Regions from separate parts of the Homo sapiens genome. Here all the other regions are linked to region 5. The links are contacts of gene promoters, found by promoter capture Hi-C in blood cells and fetal thymus (Javierre and others, 2016). All regions are on one chromosome and are shown on one strand. The core of a region is centred on a gene start or on the middle of the fragment in contact, and the rest is flanking DNA. Distances in the headings are between cores, read along the strand shown. Region 1 overlaps SRSF11 (serine and arginine rich splicing factor 11). Region 2 holds the start of HS2ST1 (heparan sulfate 2-O-sulfotransferase 1). Region 3 overlaps ZRANB2-AS1 (ZRANB2 antisense RNA 1). Region 4 has its middle 2.1 kb from the start of CTH. Region 5 holds the start of ZZZ3 (zinc finger ZZ-type containing 3).

What was found. The method cuts DNA at HindIII sites, captures the fragments that hold promoters and counts their contacts. A CHiCAGO score of 5 or more calls a contact.
Region 1: a fragment that was not itself captured here is called in contact with the fragment with the promoter of ZZZ3 in region 5 in 1 of 17 cell types (total B cells); the score reaches 6.0 in total B cells.
Region 2: the fragment with the promoter of HS2ST1 here is called in contact with the fragment with the promoter of ZZZ3 in region 5 in 5 of 17 cell types (naive CD8 T cells, non-activated CD4 T cells, naive CD4 T cells and 2 more); the score reaches 11.5 in naive CD8 T cells.
Region 3: a fragment that was not itself captured here is called in contact with the fragment with the promoter of ZZZ3 in region 5 in 1 of 17 cell types (naive B cells); the score reaches 5.2 in naive B cells.
Region 4: a contact is called between a fragment that was not itself captured here and the fragment with the promoter of ZZZ3 in region 5, in 1 of 17 cell types (total B cells). The highest score is 5.6, in total B cells.

The regions. Positions count from the first base shown.
Region 1 is chr1:70,246,850-70,249,549 of GRCh38, forward strand. SRSF11 (serine and arginine rich splicing factor 11) reads left to right here. Exons shown (of 12, transcript NM_001350605.2): 9 at 1-58. Among named protein-coding and RNA genes, the nearest start is that of SRSF11, 27 kb to the left of the region's middle. The HindIII fragment of the contact is 1,771 bases long and covers 366-2,136 here.
Region 2 is chr1:86,913,185-86,915,884 of GRCh38, forward strand. HS2ST1 (heparan sulfate 2-O-sulfotransferase 1) reads left to right here and starts at 1,451. Exons shown (of 7, transcript NM_012262.4): 1 at 1,451-1,976. The coding sequence starts at 1,853. It overlaps SELENOF (selenoprotein F), which reads right to left and starts at 942. Exons shown (of 5, transcript NM_004261.5): 1 at 844-942. The coding sequence starts at 927. RefSeq lists enhancers at 239-853, 702-751, 854-1,468, 862-1,021, 1,072-1,191. The HindIII fragment of the contact is 1,083 bases long and covers 1,070-2,152 here.
Region 3 is chr1:71,056,883-71,059,582 of GRCh38, forward strand. The region is part of intron 2 of ZRANB2-AS1 (ZRANB2 antisense RNA 1); the gene reads left to right. Among named protein-coding and RNA genes, the nearest start is that of MIR186, 9.5 kb to the right of the region's middle. The HindIII fragment of the contact is 731 bases long and covers 1,007-1,737 here.
Region 4 is chr1:70,407,857-70,410,556 of GRCh38, forward strand. No RefSeq gene overlaps it. Among named protein-coding and RNA genes, the nearest start is that of CTH, 2.1 kb to the right of the region's middle. The HindIII fragment of the contact is 1,557 bases long and covers 657-2,213 here.
Region 5 is chr1:77,681,233-77,683,932 of GRCh38, forward strand. ZZZ3 (zinc finger ZZ-type containing 3) reads right to left here and starts at 1,426. Exons shown (of 15, transcript NM_015534.6): 1 at 1,353-1,426. RefSeq lists enhancers at 1,482-1,561, 2,379-2,700, 2,582-2,681 and silencers at 1,942-2,361, 2,372-2,431. The HindIII fragment of the contact is 10,120 bases long and covers 1-2,700 here.

The DNA.
Region 1 (2,700 bases), core at 1-2,500, 7.4 Mb before region 5:
GTTCTAAAACACCACCAAAAAGTTACAGCACAGCCAGACGTTCTAGAAGTGCAAGCAGGTAAGGTGGCATTGTGAATTCTTGGCAATTATTTTTTTAACTTTGCTTCTAACAGTATCAGTACGCTGTCAGTATGAAGTCTTTTCCAGAACATAAGTATTTCAGTGTTGAAAAAAGTTACATTTTGCTGTTATTTAAAGTTTTTAAAAGGCAATTTGTGAAGAATAATGTAGTTTATTTTTCTTTTTACTTAATATTTTATGGTCTAGAGTATATTTGAAGTAACATGGAATTCAAGAGAGGTGAGTTTTTCTCTTTATAGTTTAAGTTTTAATGGCTAAACCATACTGAATTGTTCCATTAAGTAAGCTTATTATAGTAAGCTATATTTATCATCTGCATGTTAGTACTTGAGAATTTTTCTATCCCTTTTAATGACTGTTGAATTAATGGGAAGCAATGCAGGTTCTGGTTTGTGTCATTCTTAGACTAATTCTATCTTTAAGCTGTCAGTGAAAATTGAAATGTTGCAGACCTTACTGCACAAAAAGCACATTTTCATACTTAATTTGGGATTTATATGATAGTAAGGGCTGGACTTCATTCCATTTTTCAGATCTCATTCACATGTTTTGCTGCAGTGCTTGTTTTATTCATCAACATTACTTAAATTCACTAGGAGAAGGTTCATGCCATATAAAAAAAAATAACTGAAATGTATAAAAGACCTAAATGTAAGAGCCAAAACTATAAAACCTTTAGAAAGAAACAAAAGTGAATCTTTAAGACCATGAGCTTGGTGGTTTCCTAGATATGACTTCAAAAGCATAAGCAACAGAAGAAAAGAAAATTTTGGAATTCACCAAAAGTTAAAACATTTGTATTTCAAAGGATACTATCAAGAAAGTAAAAACCTAGAGTGCTAGTTAGAAAATTCTTTATATATTCTCTATTAAGAACTCTTAGAACTCAGCAATAGACAGGCAACCCAATTTAAAAATGGCAAAGAATCTGTAGCCATTACTCCAAAGGAGATATGCAAATATCTAGTAAGTACATAAAATCTGTTCAACATCATTAGTCACCAAGGAAATACAAACCAGACCACAGTGAGATATGTCACAGTCACTAGGATGGTTATAAATCAAAAAGACAGATGATAGCTGAGCCTGACAGATGATAGTAAGTGTTGATTAGGATGTGGAGAAATTAGAACCCTGTGCATTGCTAGTATGAATATAAACTGGTACAGGTGTTTTAGAAAACAGTCTGGCATTTCCTAAAAATGTTAAACATAGAGGTTTTTGACCCACCAGTTGTACCCCTGGGGGAAAATGAAAACATTTTCACAGAAAAACTTTTATGTGAATGTTTGTGGCATTATTTCATAATAGCCAAAAAGTTAACTATCCATTAACAAATGGATAAACAGAATGGTATATCTATACAATTGAATATTTTTCAGTGATAAATAAGGTTGATACATGCTACAGTATGGATGAAACTTGCAAACATCCATGAAAGGCCGTGTATTGCGTGATTCCTTTTATATGAAATGCCCAGAATAGGCAAATCTATAAAGATACCAAGTAGATTACTGATTGCTGGGGAGATAGGGAGGATTAGAGTGATAACTAAAGGGTAGGGAGTTTTTGGGGTGGTGAAAATTTTCTTAAAAACTAAATTTTTAAGCATGAAAATGAAACCAAATGTAAGTACAGAAGGAAATGCTGAATCAGGCCTGAGGGATAGGTGGCAAAGAGATAGAAAAGATGGAAGGTACTACATATATTTTCTTACCTTAAAAACTGTTGAGGATTTTTTTTTTTACCTGTTGCTTTATATAATGTACTTGTAAGTGCCTTCTCATGCTGTATTATTGGATCACTCTAAATTAAGGCATCTTCTGTGAGTTATTAAATACCCACTGTGTTTGTAGTTGTGCTACAGTCTGTTGAAGGACACGGAAATGTAATATAAAATACTTCTTCCGTCTAGAGAATTTGGAGTTTCAGTTACATAAGACAGTAGCAAAAAGTATAAGGTGCACAGTCGTGACAATGTTTGATAAGTGAATGCTCAGTTATGTGTAACGTTTCCAGGACAAGGGTCACAGAGGGCTGTGTAAGTAGAAAAAAAGCTTCATTTGGAAATTAGACAACTAAGTACAGGGTTTTTTAAGTCTGATAACTTTTGAGAATCAGGAACAGAATTTTTTTTTTTAAGTTACAGTAAAAAGGAGGGGAAGGCTGTATATCAGCTGTATATCTTCAAAGTAATTGGTGAAAGCAGGGTTTTGGGGGACTGCAGGAGGGCGATTTTGCTAGAGTATAAGGTTTCTACCTTTCCACTAACTAGTTCTCTGAATTTCATCTAATGATTTAAAGGTGAATGTGGGGATATTTTATTAGTAACTACCTTCTATATCACATTATTGAATTATTCTGTACTTACTCTGAACACTGAATGTTTGAACCAAAAACTAACTTCTTCAGTAATAGTTTACTTCACACGTCACCCCTCTCGCATTAGTTTTGTTAAATCAGTTTTTTCTCAAGCTTAGTATTTCTAACATTTTGTCATCAATTAAAAGAATTACTAGAAATTAGGAGTTTTCTTGAGGGTAGTAAAGGGAAAGATTCATGGTTTGCAGATGATTATATTACTCATTTAATTGTTTAGCTTATACCAGTATTGTGAAA
Region 2 (2,700 bases), core at 201-2,700, 9.2 Mb after region 5:
TGGATAAGTAAATTAAACCAGGTCTCCTTATTAGAGACTACCCGAAGAATTAAGCTAGGATAAAAAAACGTAAAAGCTTTCAGCACTGTGCCTAAAATTTTACTATTCACACAGCAGAACATGGATATGAGAAGAAATAAGTTAAAAGTACACTTTTCCCATTCAAAGGTCACCCATCTATTCTGCCAATAGAGAAAAATGAAATAAAAAACGCTGCCTTAAAGAAGACAACGAACATCATTTAAAAAACTAACTTCAAAAATGAATTATACTTTGGTATAGATAACTCCTTTTACTCCAACAACATTGTTTAAAAGCACAAATCGCACTCAAGCGCAGCCAGCCGTATATGAATAGCAGAGGAGAACGGAAGTTAAGAGACTAACAGAAGTAGTGAAAATGAGAGAGCACGCGCGCGAGAGAGGTAAACACAAACTGTTCGCCTGGACCAACGACTTGAAGACTTGCCTCTAAGAGTTGGAAGTCTCGTCATGAGTCTCTTGCATTTCTGTCCATTTAAAAACAACCTCCACTTCTTGCCAAGCTTTATTATTCCCCCCTCCCACCTGGTGTGGTTTACAGATTGTTTTTAGCAAGAGCCGTATAAGAGAAGCTACGTACCCAAGACAATCTGAAATCAAGAGAAAACTGCTGCTAGAAACCCAAGGCGGGGAAGGAGAAGGATCAACCGAGAAATTAAGCCACGTTGCATTCTGGCCGCAGCAGTCATTAAGGAAGCGCAGTCCTCCCCACCCTTTTCAACCAGGACCGAATGTTGCGTCTTTCTCAGCTGCAATCACTCCTACTCTCCCTGTGGCAGCTGCGAAGGTGATCTACACTCACCGCTTGAAGCACAGTCGCCAACAACAACCGTAGCCCAAACGCCGGCACCAGACACCCACTCGGCCCAGCCGCCATCGCTACCATTTTCCGCAGGTTTCTGGCTGCCTAGAAGGACCCCTAAGCTAGGGGCGTCCACTCCAGAGCCTGATCCAAAACAGAACGCTAACGGCCGTTGCCCTTACATCTCTCATTTGGAAGTGACAGGTATTAAATAACGGCATATGAAAGCTTAAAAGTCATCAAATACAATCACTGGGTGCTTTCGATTACCCAAATCAGGCACTTGCCTAAACTCCCCACTTCTTTACTTCTGCGGTCTCCTTTCTTTTATTCACGACACTTCGTCAAGCAGCCAAGAAGCCACGCCTTCGCCAGTTTTAGCCCCGCCTTCTTCTCCAAGTTTACCCAATTGAATGTCGTCTTGATTGAGCTCTGTGGCAGAGGAAACCAACCGTAAACCGAACCAAGAGCGAAGCGCAGGGGCTCTTCCGTCCAATAAGCGGACCCGAACGGGGGGAGGGGCGGGGCTTCTGGTTGCCGAGCAGCGTACGCGGATGCGTGCGCGTGGTGGCGGAGGGGGATGGGCGGGGGCGGGGATGAGGGCGGCGCAGCCGCAGCGCCGGTGGAGGGGCGCGCGGCCGCGAGCAAAGGAGGGAGGGAAGGAAGGAAGAGAGGGAGGCGGGCAAGCAGGCGGGCGCGGGGGTCGGGGACTGAGGCAGTAGAGGGAGGCGAGAGCCCGGCAGCCGCTTCGCGCTGTTTGCTGCGCGGGCTTTTGGAGGGGGCGGCCGTTTAGTCGGCTGAGGAGAAGCGGACACCAGCGGCGTTGGTGATAGCGCCTGGGGGAGGGGGACTGGAGAGGCGAGAAGGGGGGTCGCTGCGGTGGTTCTCTCGCTGTCGCTCTCTCTTTGCCTCGCTCCCGGCTCGGCGGGCTCCTCCCGGCGTCTCTCTCGCCTCCGGGGTCCCGCTCCCCGCCCCCCGCGGTATGTCTTGATCCCGAGCAGCGGGTTTCATGGGGCTCCTCAGGATTATGATGCCGCCCAAGTTGCAGCTGCTGGCGGTGGTGGCCTTCGCGGTGGCGATGCTCTTCTTGGAAAACCAGATCCAGAAACTGGAGGAGTCCCGCTCGAAGCTAGGTGAGGAACTGAACTGCCCCGGGCTGAGTGCTGTGGAAGGGGCCGAGGAGGCGCTGCCGCCGGAGCAAGTGGGCGTTCATCTAACCTGGGGTCTGGCTCGGGGGCTGAAAGCGGTTTCAAAGAGAACCGGGAACAAGGGGCAGCGAGAGCACGAGCTCCAAGAATGGGTTGAATTAAGCTTGAGCGGCGTGCTGGGCTCGCGAGGTCACGGGGCAGAGGTTGCAAGGTTGGGCTTCCCTAGCCAAAGGGTAGCCCCGAAGTAGGCATTCCGCGGAGAGAGAGCGAGAGAGAAGACCGAACTCAGTGGGGAGCGTGTGTTGCTGGTCTCCGGAGACAGAAGCGCTTAGCATCGCGTGTTCTCTTGGAAGTCGTACAGGAAGCCCTGGCAATGTCAGATGAGGGGTATTCTAATTTGAGCTATGGGCATCTGGATACGAATTCTTTTGGGGGCTCATGAAGGGATAGGTGCGCAGAAATGGGAGGAGATGCTGGGATGACGGAGAGCAACATGTGAACACTGTAGCGAGTTGCACTCTTGTGCTCCGGGCAGCAAAGGACCTTGTAATTGCCAGCTGAGGGAGGCTGGCCGGGTAGTGCGGGAACGCGAGTGCAAAGCTTCATCGGAGTACGGAAATGAGGGTCCGGAGATTTAAATTCTTCTTTAGTGGCGCTAAACTGATGAATTGGGGCTTGAGAATAGGGATGCCTATGTATGTTGCTTCAC
Region 3 (2,700 bases), core at 122-2,621, 6.6 Mb before region 5:
CATACTGATTCAAATAGCCCCAGCAAATATAATCAAAAGGGCACTAAGCAATGATACCAGAATGCAGTGGTGCTTAAAATGCAGGTTCAATGTTTAATATTGTGTTAAATATGTCTTTGGAGTCCTTGAATAAGACTTTCTTTTGCATCTACATTAACAGATGAATAGTCTCCAAATGTAGAGAAAACATAGTGTAGGTTTGCTAATTTCCAATGGCTTCACCAAAATTACAGGTTAAACATTTTGTGTCTCTCTTATCAGTCATCAGTGCTTCAAAATGTAGTTTTTCACGGTCAGGTACCTGCCTTAGACTTTATGATACGCAATACTTTATGGGAGGCCTGAATTTAAACACATTTTCATTATCACTAATATGAGGAAAAAACACAAAACATTATTTTTATTATTCTTTCTTCCTTCTTAGCACTCTTCTATCCTAAGATTTTAGTGCCACAGGTACTATGGGTGCAGCCTGAGAATACTGAGGTAGTTTCTTCTGGTAGAATTAACTACATTCTCCTTAACCTTTCCCTTTTTGTGATTCTAAGGAATCAATAATAAGGAACAGGAGACATAATTGTGAGTGTGATATAGGGCAACACAATCTTGTGTCACAGTTGCTGATACCACATTAAAATTCTTAGGCTCTAATACATTATTCAAATTATAAGAATACAGATAACTTGTTTTCCCTGATCAGAATTTTGATACATGGAAATAATTGCTGAAAAAGCAACATTTTTGACAGGTTCACAGTCAACAGCTAGATTAGAGGTAACAGTGTCACTAAGAGTTAATACGAGGATAGACCATAATTAACTGGATTTGCTTCATCCAAACTGAACACTTCCATTTTAGTTTTGACTTTTAGGTGTTTTCACAGAAATAGCTCATTTACAGTTAGTGTTATGTATATAAGCCAAAATAAATGTCCAAACAATTTATCAGTAAAAATCTACTGGTCTAGTTATCAAGCAATAATGTATTTTATATTTTCTTGTTTGAAAGCTTTTTAACTATACTTATAAAATTCGGTTCTACCTAGTACATGATATGCCTGTTCGTAGTATTTTAACCTAACAAAGCATTTTGAACTCTATCATCTGCTCCTCCAAGTTAGGTAAATTACTTTTTGATTTGTTGCTTATTTTGCCAATGATGCACCCCAATGCACTTACTTCAGGATCATACATTTATAGGGAACTCAATTTACCAATCCATAGTGAAGTCCCTTAGGTTAATATTTTTGCAGAGGATCACACAGCATGTTAGGAAGAAAGCCAATAGTTGACCCCAAGTCTTACTTCCAGCATAGTAATTTTTTGTGCTTCTGTCCTTGGTGATATACAAATAATCTAATTTCAAAATGTATGCCAGTGAGGCTGCTCTTTCTCAACCTATCTTAGTTGTGTGTAATAAAATATAAGTTGGCATACTTTAAGTAGAAAATTGAGGACAATAAGGTTTATTTACATGTTCTACCCTCTCCTGAAGGATGGCTGGACAGATAACTTCAAAGTTTTTTCAGCTTATGAAGAAATGGCCTCCTTGGACTTAAGAAACAGAAAAAAGCTGGGCATGGTGGTTCATGCCTATAATCCCCGCACTTTGGGAGGCTGGAGGAGGATCACTTAAGGTTAGGAGTTTAAGACCAGCCTGGCCAACATAGTGAGACCTGTCTCTAAAATAAATATTTAAAAAGAAAAAAGAAAAGTTTCTCCTACAATGGTCTTACAAAGCTTTAATTTCAGAATAAAAACTCCTTTCACAATCAAAGAATGCTTTCCAGCGAAGAACATTTATTCTATCAGTAATGAGGAAAAAATACAACTGATCAAAACCTCTTTGAGAAAGGTAACAGATATTGACCCTCATCAAACATTTGAGTGCTTGCTATAATGACAAACACTATGCTAAGGGAGAGGGATACTGGGGAAGGAGAAACTTTTAGGAGTTTCACCCAATTCCCATTGAAAGGGAAGAGGCATCAGGGATGGCATCCTAGTGTTCTGAATTGAGTCATGAAAGCTAAATGAAAAAAGAAATGGTAGTGGGGTATGTGTAGGGTATCCCAGGTATAAGAAACTTGTACTAAGATGAAAGCCTATTAGTAGTTCAGCATAGTTAACGTAGCTAGTGTATAGGTTCTGTGCACCTAAGTAGGTTAGAATTGGGAGGTGGGGGTAGTGTGAGTCCTGGAAAAAACCCCTGAACTTTTTACTATATGCATAAGGATTGTAGTTGAATTCTGAAAGCCATGAAAAGGCACTGAAAGGGTTTAAACAAAGAAATAACATGAAATGAAATGCTCGTTAGTTAAGAGCATTCTAGCATCAGTGATGAAGTGATCAATGCTTGGTGAAAAAAATTCATTTAGCAAATATTACTGAAATCCTACTAAATGCCAAATGACCATTTAGGAAGAAACTACAATATCCTAGCCCACAAATCAAAGCAGTGGTAGTGTTCACAAAAAGGAAATCTAAGAGGATTATCAAGTACTGATAATGATGTTTATCAATATGAAATACAACATGAGATACAGGTTTGGTGAATAGAGGATTTAGGAAGAATTTAAATACAGTAAAATTGGCTGTCTGACATGTGAAGGGAGATACAGGCCAGGCGTAGTGGCTCACACCTATAATCCTAGCACTTTGGGAGGCCAAGACAGGAAGACTGCTTGAGTCCAGGAATTCG
Region 4 (2,700 bases), core at 185-2,684, 7.3 Mb before region 5:
AGACCTTGTCTCAAAAAAAAAAAAAAAAAAGTGCTATCTGACAGGCTTTGGCCCATTGTAGTAATCTACAAGTCTACCAAATTTAGATCTTATATTGTAATATCTTCTTTCCCCTGATCCCCAAATTCCCTTCATAATTCTCATTATTTCATTGACAAAAGCCCAAGGATGAACAAATTGTTTTCTTTTGAGGTAAAACAAAACAGATCTAATAATTGCGTATGTTTATGCTTGATAATAATAATAATATATTTTATGAACATCCCTCCCAAGTCCCGATTGCACTGTTTTGATATTCAGTCACGGTATCTTTATTCATAGCCTGCCTTTAATGAGAATAGTAGAGGTCTTTGTGCATAAACACAAGAAGTACAGTGCTATTTTCATAGTGTTTAAGAAGTACTTATTATAAAATAATGTACTCTGTGTTTTATAAAAGGATCAAACAGTAAAGAAATATAAAAAATGAGAAGTTTCCCATTTCCTCTAAAATATCTGCTTTTGCTGAATCTCCTTCCCAAGAAGAATTAATAATTCTTCTGTAAGTGTTATGATATTTTGTTGTATGCAACATAATTTATATGAAAAATTAGCACACACCTCAAACTATATACCATTTATTGGATTTAAAGTGGCTATCATTTAATCATTTAAAAAGCTTTTTTTCTAAATACAGTTGTCTTTCTAAAATGTTTAAATTAGGGTTTTTGGTAGTATTATTATTGTTGAAAAGGTAATATGTGCCCATGATATAAAACTTGAACACAAAAGAGAATAAAATGTAAAGAAAATCACCTTTCCACTGCAGATCCATAGTCTCTATGACCAGAAGGATTTTTATACATATGAAATCATAAATATCTGTCTGAAAATAATGCAACATAGTATATATTCTTTTGAAAAAGTGGAAGCATGATGTATACGTTACTTTGCTTTGCTGTCTTAGATATTAGAGATCAATAGGCCAGGTGTGGTGGCTCATGCCTGTAATACCAGCACTTTGGGAGGCCAAGGCTGGTGGATCACTTGAGGCAAGGAGTTCGAGGCCAGCCTGGCCAACATGGTGAAACCCATCTCTACTAAAAATACAAAAATTAGCCAGACATGGTGGCTGCATCTGTAGTCCCAGCTACTTGGGAGGCTGAGGCAGAAGAATCTCTTGAAACCTGGAGGCAGAGGTTGCAGTGATTCGAAATGGCACCACTGCACTCCAGCCTGGGTAACAGAGCGAGACTCTGACATACCAGCACATCTCAATCTCTTCCTGCTTCTTGGCCATACTGTAGCCATCACAGAGTAGTATCATAACCAGTTAACCAGTCTTTTAAGAATGAATAATTAAGCCATTTTTCACTCTTTTGCTATTAAAAATAGTAACGTAGGTTTAAAAAGCATCCTTGCTCATCTCTGTACACATATTAAGAATATATCTAAAGGATAAATTCCTGCAAGTAAAATTTTCTACAAAAGAAATTGCTGAGTCATAGAAAGGGGATATTTTAAATCCTTGATACATATTAAGCTGCATCCAATAAAGTTTTCTCAGTTTAAGAGAGTAAAAAAGGCCTGATTTATAGCATTTGTATTGGGTGCTATCTTTTTTTTTTTTTTTTTTGAGATGGAGTCTCACTCTGTGGCCCAGGCTGTAGTGCAGTGACATGATCTCGGCTCACTGCAACCTCCGCCTCCTGGGTTCAAGCGATTCTCCTGTCTCAGGCTCCCAAGGAGCTGGGATTACAGGTGTGCACCACTACGCCCAGCTAAGTTTTGTGTTTTTTGTAGAGATGGGGTTTCACCCTGCTGGCCAGGCTGGTCTCGAACTCTTGACTTCAGGTGATTCGCCCACCTCGGCCTCCCAAAGTGCTGGGATTAATAGGCGTTAGCCAATGCACCCAGCCTAGTGCTGTCTTCTGAATGATTCTTTATTACAGTACACTAAATAAAATGTCTGTATTTATGCAACTCAGGGTTTGTCAGCAAATATTAGGAGGTAAAACTAATTGGAACTGTTTTAGACCCTTTTGGCCCCTAAATGCCATATCATATTACACAAAAATACCCACCTATAGTTATACATAAATATTGAGGTGAGTTGCAGTTGATGTTATATTTTTAAAAGAAAAATATTAATTAAATATGTATTAATATACATTAGTGTTTTGAAGTCTATCCATTTTTTCCCCCAGCCATACAAAGTTTGGTAGGATTCTAAAAGCTTGTAGGCCCTCAAGCACCACTCCTCTAGTGCTTAATGGGTTAAATGTCCCTAAAGCTAATTTGAAAAGCAAATTGCCTCATTCTTTCTCTTCATATCTTTCTTTCAAACTGTAAATTTTAAGAGCTGTTTATTCCTTATTCTCCTTGTTCTTAATTTGTTTAATAAAGTTTTAGATCTTTAGCGAATATTTTGCAACAACAGAAATATCCCCAAATTTCCTGGTGCTAGAAAACAGCCACAATAGTAAGTAGGTCAAGTCTGTATTGCTTAGGGAACAGGGAGATTTTTGTTTTAAAGCAGTGATTCTTCTGAGAGTAGGGCTCTGGGCGCAGGTGAGTGGTAAACAATCCTTTTTCCTGCAGGGATGTTGCTGTTGTGTAAAAGCAAAAGCATTTTGTGTAAGGATGTTAGGCTCCAGTAAGTATTTCAAAGCCACATTATCTTTCTCATTAGGGGGAGTTTCTCTCTGTACTTTAAAAGAA
Region 5 (2,700 bases), core at 176-2,675:
GGAATGGAACTTTGTGGTACCGTGAAACAAGCACTGTGTTACTCTATACTATATACCTCTCTGTATTATGTATAGGAAAAAAAAACACTTTTGTAGTTTTAAAAAACAAACTATGAATAAATTAACTAGTCACCTGATTCGTTTTGTAATTAACTCCCCACTCCTTATTTAGTACTGCAACTACTAAATAAAATCCAAATACTACTTAAGAATACGAAAAAACAAAGGTATACTGTAAATTCACTTCTGAGACATTAGGGAATTGGAGAGAAATATTAAATTGATTTCAAACTCATTTAAGAAAAATAAAGCTCAAACTCTGATGCCAAAATTTATGAGTTTGCTCTTTACTAAAAAGTTGACCTGAGGCCGGGCGCGGTGGCTCACGCCTGTACAGTGCTGAAATCCCAGCACTTTGAGAGGCCAAGGCAGGTGGATCACTTGAGGTCAGGAGTTTGAGACCAGCCTGGCCAACATGGTGAAACCCCGTCTCTACTAAAAACACAAAAATTAGCCGGGCGTGGTGAAGCGCGACTGTAATCCCAGCTACTCGATACTCGAGAGGCTGAGGCAGGAGAATCGCTTGAACCCGGGAGGCGGAGGTTGCAATGAGCCGAGATCGCCCCACTACACTCCAGCCTAGGCGACAAGAGCGAGACTCCGTCTCAAAAAAAAAAAAAAAAAAATCACATGAAACAGTCTGTTACCTTAAATATATAACCTAAAACAACCATCCCTAAACTTCAAAGATGGCAACCTCAGTAACACAGTAGTAATTAAAACCCTACCGATAACTGAGTTAATAGGCACGTACAAAATGATGAAAAGCAGGATTTTATTCTGACCACAGGTGTTGTCAGAGACATAATGGGCCCTCCAAATACTGCCAAAAGTTACTGAAAATACGAAGTCAGGGTGATGAGTAAATGACACCCAGAGAAAATAGATGGGAGGAGTTCTGTTTCAGGAGACTGGAGTCAGGTACTGCAGCAGAAAACGCGACACAATAGTTAACCGGTCTGGAATACTTTAGAAAATGGCAAGAAGGGAAAAACTGACAAGAACATCTTAAAGTAAGAGGAACGGTATCCAATGGAATCATCAGGTCTGCGCGAGCACGGCTCCCGGACTTCCAGTGAGTGGGACAGGGTGGAACTATCACTGCGTGGGGAGAAGGACCTGGCTGAGGGGTGCATATGCTTTTGCAGGTGGTGGAGCGCCCGCAGGGGGATGGGGAGGGCAGTGTTGCCTCAATGGGGTTACTGTATTCCCTTCAAGACTATGGGAAGCTGATGCAGCACGTATCCCGGCACCAAGAGGCACTCGCCCCGGGCCCCTCCCTAACGACTTGCCTTGTAGAAAGAGTTGCAGGTCCCAGGCCCCCGGAACCCAAGGCTCCGCCATCCAGGACAACTGCTCTGCCAACGAGGTCCCGCGAGAATCGAGAGATCTCGCGATACAAACCCACTCGCATCTCGCGAGCTTCCACTAGACCCAACATGGCGGTACAGAAAAAAATCAGTATTTCGGAACTTAAAAAGCACTTCACTAACGGAGTAGTGAACATTTAAAACACTGAGACAGTAGGAAGTCTTTCCGCTTTATACGTCTCCTCCTTTCCCCTTGTACAGAAAAGCAGAAATCTTAAAAACCTCCGATTACCACGATTATACTACATAAACAGAGCGCAGTGCGCTGCCCCAGGCAGCCTCCCTGTCACGTGGAAACATTTTCGGCGTGCCCGTCACGTGGGCCGCTACTGAGCGAGCGCGCTCCCGACGCCCTCCCAAAAGCCCTCCCCGCCCCCCCTTTCGCCCGCGCACACGTGCGCGCGCACCCCCGCCCCACGTGGGGGCTTCGCCGTCGCAGCCGTCGCAGCCGTCGCAGTCGTCGCCTCCAGCCCACCCCCTCCCGGTACTTGGCTCCAAATCCGGGTCCCAAGCCGATCGTTTCCCACCCCCATTCCCTCCCCCTTCATTCTCCCTCCCCCGTGTCTGGCCCTCACCACGTGTCCCGAGCTCTTGCTCACCTTTCACGCGGGGTCGGACGCAACGGGCCACTTGGGGAGGCGCCGCCGCCGTGGCCGCTCTCCGCCCCCGCCACGGCACTTGCTCGGGTGGCCACCGCTGCAGGAAGCTCGATAGCGGCGCCGCGGCGCTTCCAGGTGGGTCCCCGCCTCCCGCTCCTGCCACTTCCCGCAGCACCAGCGGCTCCTTCCGGTCCCCTCCTTTCTCCTCGTTGGGACTGGCGGGCGGCGGCGGCGGCGGCGACCGCTGCTGCTGCTGTTGCTGCTGCTGCAGGCGCGCTCACTACACCGCCTGCTGGTAACCGCGGCCCGTGCAGCGCCCGCGGGTCGGGCGCCGCCGAGGCCCTCCCCGGCCAGTCCCTGCCCCTGGGCGAAGTTTGGTCTTCCGAGGGCGGGTTGCAGTCCATCCCTTGCAACCGTCCAACCTGGCCCTAGCAGAGGAAAGGCGTCCTCGTAGCTCCGCCATTGGAAATCGGCTTCATCCTGCCCTTTGTGGCCTCCTGAGAGATTTGTAAACCCCACCTCCCTTAGCACTGTGGTCTCAAGCCAGGAGAACATCCATACATGTATTTATGATCGTGCTTCTGCCTCGCCTCGTTCACCTCTGGCTTGTACCACAGCACGCAGGCTCGAACCACTTCGGGCCTTTGTGCTTGCCGATTTCTCTGGCAGAA